Regions from separate parts of the Homo sapiens genome. Here region 2 is linked to region 1. Evidence: promoter capture Hi-C in 16 types of primary human blood cells and fetal thymus (Javierre and others, 2016). All regions are on one chromosome and are shown on one strand. Each heading gives the region's core, a stretch centred on a gene start or on the middle of the fragment in contact. The rest is flanking DNA. Distances are from core to core; before and after follow the strand shown.

Evidence for each region. Contacts are between HindIII fragments. The CHiCAGO score rates a contact against its expected background, and 5 or more counts as called.
Region 2: a contact is called between the fragment with the promoter of LCN10 here and a fragment that was not itself captured in region 1, in 1 of 17 cell types (naive B cells). The highest score is 6.4, in naive B cells.

The regions. Positions count from the first base shown.
Region 1 is chr9:136,486,473-136,490,769 of GRCh38, reverse strand. No RefSeq gene overlaps it. Among named protein-coding and RNA genes, the nearest start is that of C9orf163, 5.1 kb to the right of the region's middle. RefSeq lists a silencer at 1,860-1,909. The HindIII fragment of the contact is 1,579 bases long and covers 1,131-2,709 here.
Region 2 is chr9:136,741,083-136,745,303 of GRCh38, reverse strand. LCN10 (lipocalin 10) reads left to right here and starts at 2,364. Exons shown (of 6, transcript NM_001001712.3): 1 at 2,364-2,517; 2 at 3,284-3,423; 3 at 3,943-4,052. The coding sequence starts at 2,401. It overlaps LCN6 (lipocalin 6), which reads left to right. Exons shown (of 7, transcript NM_198946.3): 4 at 24-134; 5 at 563-664; 6 at 940-965; 7 at 1,162-1,287. The coding sequence ends at 642. RefSeq lists a silencer at 2,860-2,959. The HindIII fragment of the contact is 7,084 bases long and covers 1-4,221 here.

The sequences.
Region 1 (4,297 bases), core at 671-3,170:
TTGCAAAGGGTGTCCGTGGGGCTCAACTGCGTGCTCAGCGGTGGACTGATTTCGTTCTGTGTGGCTCCTTATCTCATCGTGGACCCAAATCCACGAACCACACATGAGGAGCTCTGCTGGAGGGGGCAGCACTGGGCAGAGGCAGACAAGGGGGAGCGTCACGCGGCTGTTTCCCGTGGTGAGCATCCACCAGCAGCGGTTCCTGGTGGGACACCGACGTATTCGTCTGCAAAAGTAAAAGTGTTTCAAAACAAAACCGGGTCCAGCTTGGTCCCGGTGCGTTGAAAGTGCTGGCGTTGGCCAGGCGTGGTGGCTCACGCCTGTAATCCCAGCACTTTGGGAGGCTGAGGCGGGTGGATCACAAGGTCAGGAGATTGAGACCATCCTGGCTAACACGGTGAAACCCCGTCTCTACTAAAAAATACAAAAAATTAGCCGGGCGTGGTGGCAGGCGCCTGTAGTCCTAGCTACTTGGGAGGCTGAGGCAGGAGAATGGCGTGAACCTGGGAGGCGGAGCTTGCAGTGAGCAGAGATCATGCCTCTGCACTCCAGCCTGGGCGACAGAGCAAGACACTCTCACAAAAAAAAAAAAAAAAAAAAAAAAAAAAAAAAAAAGTGCTGGCGTTAGTGGAGGTCTCTCAGAGGGGGCGTTGCAGGGCCTCCCACGTTACTCAGGCTTTGCAGACGAAGACGCAGGGTCAGTGAGTGAGCGAGCTTTGGGAAAGGCTGTTCTTCAATCTGCATCTTGAAGGTGGCTGGGTGGCGCCTCAGTCGCCTGCCCCGACGTGACTCCCGATCTGGCTGCTTTGTGTCTTTGCTTTCCACCTGGCGGCTGCTGTCCTGGCTGTTGCTGTACCTCAGTGTCCTCGTGGGTCAAGTGGGGACCTGGGTGCTGGCCCTGGGCCTGCGATGGTGAGCTGCTGGTGCACGCTGGGCATGGGGTGAGGGCTCAGAAAGGGAACAGCTCTTGTTATCGTTAGGAGGTTTTCAATCGCATTCTTTGTTCTCCACCTGCATGCCGTGTTGGCACAGTTAAGCCTGGCGGCCCCTTCAGCAGGTGTCCTAACCGTCTACATTTTAAGATGGACAAGTCTAGGCTCATGGAGATTGCAGGACTGAGCTGCGAAGCTTTATTCATGCCCAACACGACAGGTGCCAGGTGCCCAGGGCCTCAGAGGTGGGTTTCCGTTGTTCTTCACACAACCTTGAACTTGTGGCCCATCCCTGGACCTTACAGCACAGGACACACTCTCAGTGTTTGTTAGGAATCTATAATTTTCTGCGGAGTCACGCGTGATATTTGCTGTGGCTTTTGGTATATCTTCCACTCTATCGCACGGGATTTTCTGGTGAAAATGTGCCCTGGGTCCACACAAACGTGCACATTCTACCACAGCCTTTGTCGTTCTGTTTGGCATTTTTCCATTTAATAAAATGAACCTTAGAAAAGTTATAACTACGGCCAGGCGTGGTGGCTCACACCTGTCATCCCAGCACTTCGGGAGGCCGAGGCGAGAGGATCACCTGTGGTCAGGAGTTCCACACCAGCCTGGTCAACTGGTGAAACCCCCCTCTCCACTAAAAATACAAAAATTAGCTGGGCACCATGGTGGGCACCTAGAATCTCAGCTACTTGGGGGGGCTGAGGCAGGAGAATTGCTTGAATTCGGAAGGAGGAGGTTGCAGTGAGCTGAGATTGCACCACTGCACTCCAGCCTGGGGGATACAGTGAGACTCGGTCTCAAAAAAAAAAAAGAAAAGTGTATAACTTTACTTTTTTTTCTTTTTGTGGAGATGGAATCTTGCTATGTTGCCCAGGCTGGTCTCAAACCCCTAGGTTCAAGTGATCCTCCCACTTTGGCCTCCCAAAATGCTGAGACGACAGATGGGAGCAACCTCACCTGGCAAGCGTGCACCTGTTACTTTGGCCGACTCAGAGGCGGCTCTCTGCCTCCCCCTGGTGGCACTGCTCTGCCAGCGCCCCACAGGTCCTCCCGAGTGACCACAGGGCAGAAATGGCCCTCACCCCACGCCCAGGGCCATCCCCCGCGACACTGCTATTATCCTGTTTTACACATGAGGAAGCTGGGGCTCAAAGAGGTTAGGCGACTTAGCCAAGTTCGCCCATTCACTGAGCCAGGGCTATGTGATTCCCGGTCCGTGTCAAACCACGAGGAGTCACCTGCCCTCAGAGGAGCAGGAAGGCCTGTAGAGTTGATGCCATCCAGCCTGGTGACTTTTCAGACAGGGAGACGGCTGCTCAGAGGGGAGAAGGGGGTTGTTGGGCCACTTTGCCAGGAGTCAATACCATGGCCAGCCTGGCATCGGATACTTTGCCAGGAGTTAATGCCACGACTGGCCTGGCATCGAATACTGGAGCTCTTCCCAGCTCCACCCGGGCCCTTTTCTCTTCCCTATCTACAGTCCCCAGGCCACCAAGTCCATGTCCACCACTTAAATCATCACTCAATGCTCAGGACTGTCTCCTGCCTGCTGTGTGTGAACCCCGTGCTGTGCTGGGGTTGTGCCCTCGGGGACTCTCCCGGGTTCTTGGGGACTCTCCTGGGTTCAGCGCCTCTTTCTCCTAGGCCACCCAAGGCTGCCTCCTGGGCCCTGGCTCTCCCTAGCCCCTAGCTCGAACCCTAACCTGGAGAGCCTTTGGGGCCCAAACTGGTTGCATCGCTCCTGGCTGAAAAGCCTCTGGAAGCTTCCTATACTTCCAGACACCACCTGCGGGTCTCTTAGCAAGCCTACAGAGTCCACACTAGCCTACGCCCACTGGCCGCTCACCCCGCAGAAGCCTCATGTGGACTGTTCACTTCAGCCAGAAATGCTCCTTCTCCTCCTGCCTGTCCCCAGCAGACACTGCATGGTGCCCTCTGTATGGGCACCTCTGTGGCCAGCCAGCATCCATGTTCCCCGGAGGCAGAGTCTGGGCTTGTCTGTCTCACGGCCACAGCCCAGCTCCTAGCAGTGCCTGGGGTACAGCAGGGACTCAGCAGACATCTGTGCATGGTTTGGGGATAGAGGACTCGTGAGCTTACCAAGACCCTGCCTCAGCTCAAGGACAGCCAGCAGTTCCTCCTGTGGCCCTGGGGGCCTGCGGTCCCAGGTTACTGTGACATCGACATCAGCCTTGAGCTTTCTGCTTCATTCCTAGTGCTTTTTAGCACCTTACATGGTAAGTACTTGGCTCAATGATTCCAGAAAAATGTTCTCTGAGACCTGCTATGTGCCCAACATGCTTGAAGATGCTGGAGATGAGGAGCATGACGCTCCTGCAGTAACGAGGCTGCTGGCAATGCCGTCAATGTGCCCTGTGCCTCCGGGGAGGCCTGGTGTGGAGGATACGCTTGCCACCCTGTGAGGTCAGGTCCAGGAAGTCCTTGCAGGAGGCCGGGAAAGGGCAAGGCTGTCACCTTCTTTTACAGGGGAGGAGGCAGAGGCTTGGAAAGGCCAGGTAGCTTGCCCAAGGCTGAACACCTGGGTAGTGGCTGAGGGTCTCTGACTTCTGGAAGCTTGCAGTACAGCTGGACACACGGTAGTTAGCCCACCATTGCTGGAGCCATCTTACCTGTGCTCTGCTAGCCAGGTGGGCGCCCAAAAGGAGATGCCTTTGCCTGTGCTGGGAGGAGGCGCTGTGGGACCCATTCCCCAGCAGCCGAGAGCAAGGGCACATGTGCCAGGGCGGGGATGCACCTTCAGCCTCATGTCAGCCCTGGGAAGGCCTAGAAAGTGGACAGTGCTGTCTCGCTGCACACCCCTGGCGAGCACACCGGGCGAGCACTCCAGGTTAGGGTGGGGCTCAGAGGTGAGTAGAACACGGGAAGGGGGTGGCAGCGTGGTGAGCATGTTTGCGGACCCTATGCTGTGTGCTTGGCAGGCCTTGTGCATGGAAGTGAGTGGGACTGAAGCTCCCTCCACACTGCCCACCATGGCCCTGGGGGTCTGGCCTTCCCCTCACAGAGGTGACTTCCTCTCCTCTATGAGGGTAAGAAGAGGAAGCCTGGCCCACCCTCTGGCCAGCCTGGTGGCATGCTGACAGGGAACCCCTGCAGGGGCCTGATGAACAAACGCCACAGAACAAACTCTACGGACCCTGCCTCCAGATCTGCTTCCTCTCCCCTGATTCCAGCTTCCCAGCCCTATTCCCTCCTCCTCCAGGAAGAGCTCCGTGTCAGTGCTCTCCACCTTGGAGGCCTTCATATGTTTTTTTGCCTGGACCACCCAGCTAACCGTCTCACAGAGACTGCCCCTTCCTCTCTCCAGGCCAAGCCTCCAGCTTCAGCGTCCAGGA
Region 2 (4,221 bases), core at 1,115-3,614, 250 kb before region 1:
AGGCGGGGGGTTTTGTTTCCTAGCAATAGGCGTGCTGGAGCTCTGGGTGCTGGCCACCAACTTCAGAGACTATGCCATCATCTTCACTCAGCTGGAGTTCGGGGACGAGCCCTTCAACACCGTGGAGCTGTACAGTAAGTGTGCTGTGCGGGGCCCACGTAGGGAGCTGTGTGGTGCGTGGGCCACTCGGGGCCCACGTTGGGAGCTGTGTGGTGCGTGGGCCGCTTGGGGGCCGCGTGGGGAGCTGTGTGGTGAGTGGGCCGCTCGGGGGCCATGTGGGGAGCTGTGTGGTGAGTGGGCCGCTTGGGGCCACATGGGGAGCTGTGTGGTGAGTGGGCCGCTCGGGGGCCATGTGGGGAGCTGTGTGGTGGGTGGGCCGCACAGGACCACATGCAGGCCAAGTTCCCCCACCTTGAGGCTCGCTGCACTGGAGGTGGCTTTGGAAGGACCGGGGCCAGCATCCCAGGGCAGGTGGCCTCCTTCCTGACCCTTCCCAGCCCCTCCCCGGCCCCTCCCCAGCTCTCAGAGGTTGCTTCCCCCTGCACTGCCCTGGTGCCCCCAGGTCTGACGGAGACAGCCAGCCAGGAGGCCATGGGGCTCTTCACCAAGTGGAGCAGGAGCCTGGGCTTCCTGTCACAGTAGCAGGCCCAGCTGCAGAAGGACCGTGAGTGTCCACCGGAGCAGCCTCGGGGGAGGCTTGGGGCAAGTTCTGGAGCCCACAGGGCGTGATGGGGTGACAGAGACCCTGGGGTTGATTCTGGCTTCTGCCTGACTCAGTCGCCCTGAAGGAGTCAGGCAGGCTGAGGGGGTCTTCACCTGCCCCTGCCCAAAGTCAGGCCTGGGGGTCTTGTCCCCACGGCAGGCGAGTCTTGTGGGTGGGGCCCTGGGGTGCTGGGGGGCTCAGTCCTTTTTCACAGCCAGTCTTGCCTCCCCTTCTAGTCACCTGTGCTCACAAGATCCTTCTGGTAAGCCGCCATCCTGAGCCTCACCCTGGGCTCTCTTGGGGGAAGGGGGTGGGGGAGGCCACCCTACGCACAGTGGGTGGGAGGACCCTCTGCCCAAGCCCACGGGGTTCATGGCTCCACTGTCTCTAAGGCAGCTGAGGGTGTGGAGGAGCCTCCATGGTGGGCTGGGCCCCCTCACACTCCTCTTGGTTTTCAGTGAGTGCTGCGTCCCCAGTAGGGATGGCGCCCACAGGGTCCTGTGACCTCGGCCAGTGTCCACCCACCTCGCTCAGCGGCTCCCGGGGCCCAGCACCAGCTCAGAATAAAGCGATTCCACAGCAAACCAAGGATGCTTTTGACTGGGGGCCAGCCGGGGAATTGCGGGGAGGATGGCGGGGGTCGTCACCAAGGGCCAAGCCACAGAACCATAGAGCCAGCTGCAAAGAAGACGCGTGCCCAACCCAGTCCCTTGCCAGAGCCCCTCTGGGTCTTCAGACACCCAAACTCAGGCCCGGGCTCAGAGGCGGGGGCTGGTCAGAGGACACAGCCTGGGAGGAAGCCAGCAGTGAGCTCCACCAGGACCGCAGCTGGGGTGCCAGAGGCTCCAAGGACTGCCCAGGACAAGAGAGAGGTGGCTGGTGGGGCTCAGAGCAGCCCCTGACTCCCCAGGCTCAGGCTTCTCTGGGCTGGGGTTGTGTCTCTTGCCTGGGCAGGGGCAGGGACCCCAGACACCTGAGCCTGCAGGTCCTCCTGTGTTCTGATGGGTGTGGGGGGCTGCGCTGCCTGCCGTCCTGGGAGAAGCACAGGCCATGGGGGTCTCGGGGCTGGATGGGGGGCTGGGGACTGTGTGAGGCTCATGCTGGAGTGAGGCGAGGTGCACACAGATGCCTTGACCTGCAAGGCTGGGCATGCACACGCATGCACATGTGAGCACACACCCACACATGCACACACACACATTCATGGGCACGGGCACACAGCCCCGGCCCGCCCTTCGGCACCTGCTCAGGTGCTTGGTGCCAGGCCCTCAAGAAGGTGGTGGGGGCTGTGTGTGTGGCTGCCGCGCAGAGCTCACCATGTCCACATCTGCCCCAGAAGGGCCACGACCAGCCCTTTGCCTGTCACCTGGGAGGTCTAGGATGAGGGCCAGGGCTTAATGAGTCTCAGGGGCACACACAGTGACCCCAGGCCGGGCACTGAGGGCAGGAGGGTCCTGGGGCCTCAGAGGGGCCTCTGTCTGCCAGGGCAGCCCAGGCCAGCAGTGACCACCAGGTGGGGCAGTGCCGGCTTCCCTGGAGTGTCTGGGGGTGGTCCCTGGGCGGGGAGAGGGTAGCAGAGCCCAAGGCCACACCTGTTGCCTCCCTCCGCTCCCTCCCCTCCCTCCTCTCCCGACACAGGCTGGCGGCTCCAGAGAGGTTTAAACACTGGCCTTGGCGGCTGAGGGAGGAGGGTGAAGATGAGGCAGGGGCTGCTGGTGCTGGCGCTGGTGCTGGTGCTGGTGCTAGTGCTGGCTGCAGGGTCCCAGGTGCAGGAGTGGTACCCCAGGGAGTCCCACGCCCTCAACTGGAACAAGGTGAGCCATGTGCCACTGGTCCCTGAGCCGGGCGCCGGCTCTGGAGCTGGAGCAGGCTCCTGCACAGTCTCCCGGCAGCCGCCCAGGAGCAGGGCTACCAGCAGTTCCAGGCACGGGCGCTGCCCACCTGGCCTCTCCCACTGCAGCCTCCAGCACAGGGGCCCCGCAAGTTGCAGGGCAAAGGCAGGGAGCCTCGAGGGGGTTCGGGGGCCCAGGGGGGTCAGGGAGGGCCAGGGTGGAGGGGCCCAGAGAGCTGTGGCCGAGGAGGTCGGGAGACGCCCAGAGTGCAGAGTGGGTGTGGAGCAAGCGGGGCATATTCTGTAGCGGGAGGGCCCGGGCACCTGCTGAGTGAGCCGTGGGAGCAGCACTCATTGGCACGGCGGTGCCCAGGGCGCTAGGGTTGGCAGCAGGCAGAGTTGGGGGCCGGGGGCCGGCAGGAAGGGAAGTGGCCGAGCAGTACCCAGCCCCCAGGAGGCCATGTGGGAAGGAGCCGGGGCCTCTGAGGTAGGGGGCCTCCCACCTGCTGGCGCCCACAGCCCAGCCCTTTGCTGCCTGGGGTCCCTGACCAGCCGGGCACCTGCTTCTCTGCAGCCCTGCTCCAGTGGCCAGGGCTTGAGTGGCCGGGACCGAGGCGGCACCTGGGCGGAGCTGGGACTCCGGCTCACAGAAGGGTCATTTGTCTCCTGGGTTCTCTAGCTGGGAACCTCGGGGGTGGGGACAGCCCCCGGTGGCAGCTCCTGTCCCCGCCCACACATCCGCTGCGCAGTTTTCAGGGTTCTGGTACATTCTGGCCACTGCCACTGATGCCCAGGGATTCTTGCCGGCCAGGGACAAGAGGAAGCTGGGGGCGTCCGTGGTAAAGGTGAACAAAGTGGGCCAGCTCCGCGTGCTCCTCGCCTTCAGACGGTGAGTGGGCAGCGCCCCCCAGGCAAGGGTCTCCCCTTCCAGGAGGAGGGAGCTGCCTCGGGGCTGGAAAGGAGTCTGGGAGGAGCCTGTCTGTCTGGAAGTTCCACAAGAACCGTCCCCCCACTTCCTCCCCCTAAACTCAGAGGAAGCCACCTGCAGCCCCTGGGACCCCACATGGGTGGGTGTTGGGAGGAAGCTGCCTGCAGACCTTGGGACCCCACATGGGTAGGTGTTGGGAGGAAGCCGCTTGCAGCTCCTGGGCCCCACACGGGTGGGTGTTGGGAGTTTCTCTCGTGCCGTGGGACAGGCCCCAGTCCGAATTGGAAAATCCTCAAACCACAGAGCCTCAGATTGACACGAGTTGGATAGTGAAGCAAAAAACTGGGGACCTGGGGCCCCAACCTTCCCGGGTCCCACGGGAGCAGGGGCGGGACCGAGACGTGTGGGTGGGGCTCGGTGGCTGGCAGGCGGGAGGAGGGGTTCCCTGGTCTGCAGCCTGAGCCCCCGCCTTGGCCCCAGGTTGAAGGGGTGCCAGTCCCAGGAGGTGATCCTGAGGAAAGACGGGAAGAAGCCGGTGTTTGGGAACGCCTGTGCATACGCGGCGGGCCCGAGGGAAGGACAGGAGGGAGGTGTGCTTGGGCTCTGGGCCCTGGAGGAGCTGCGTGATATGCCTCTGACCCCCCTGTGCCTTGAGCAGGCCCCTTGTCCCCGAGAGCACGTGGCAGGCAGGCGTCAGGCTGGCTGTGTTCCCAGAGCCCACACGTCATGTGCTGGGCGGCCTGGCCCGGGAGGGGAGGC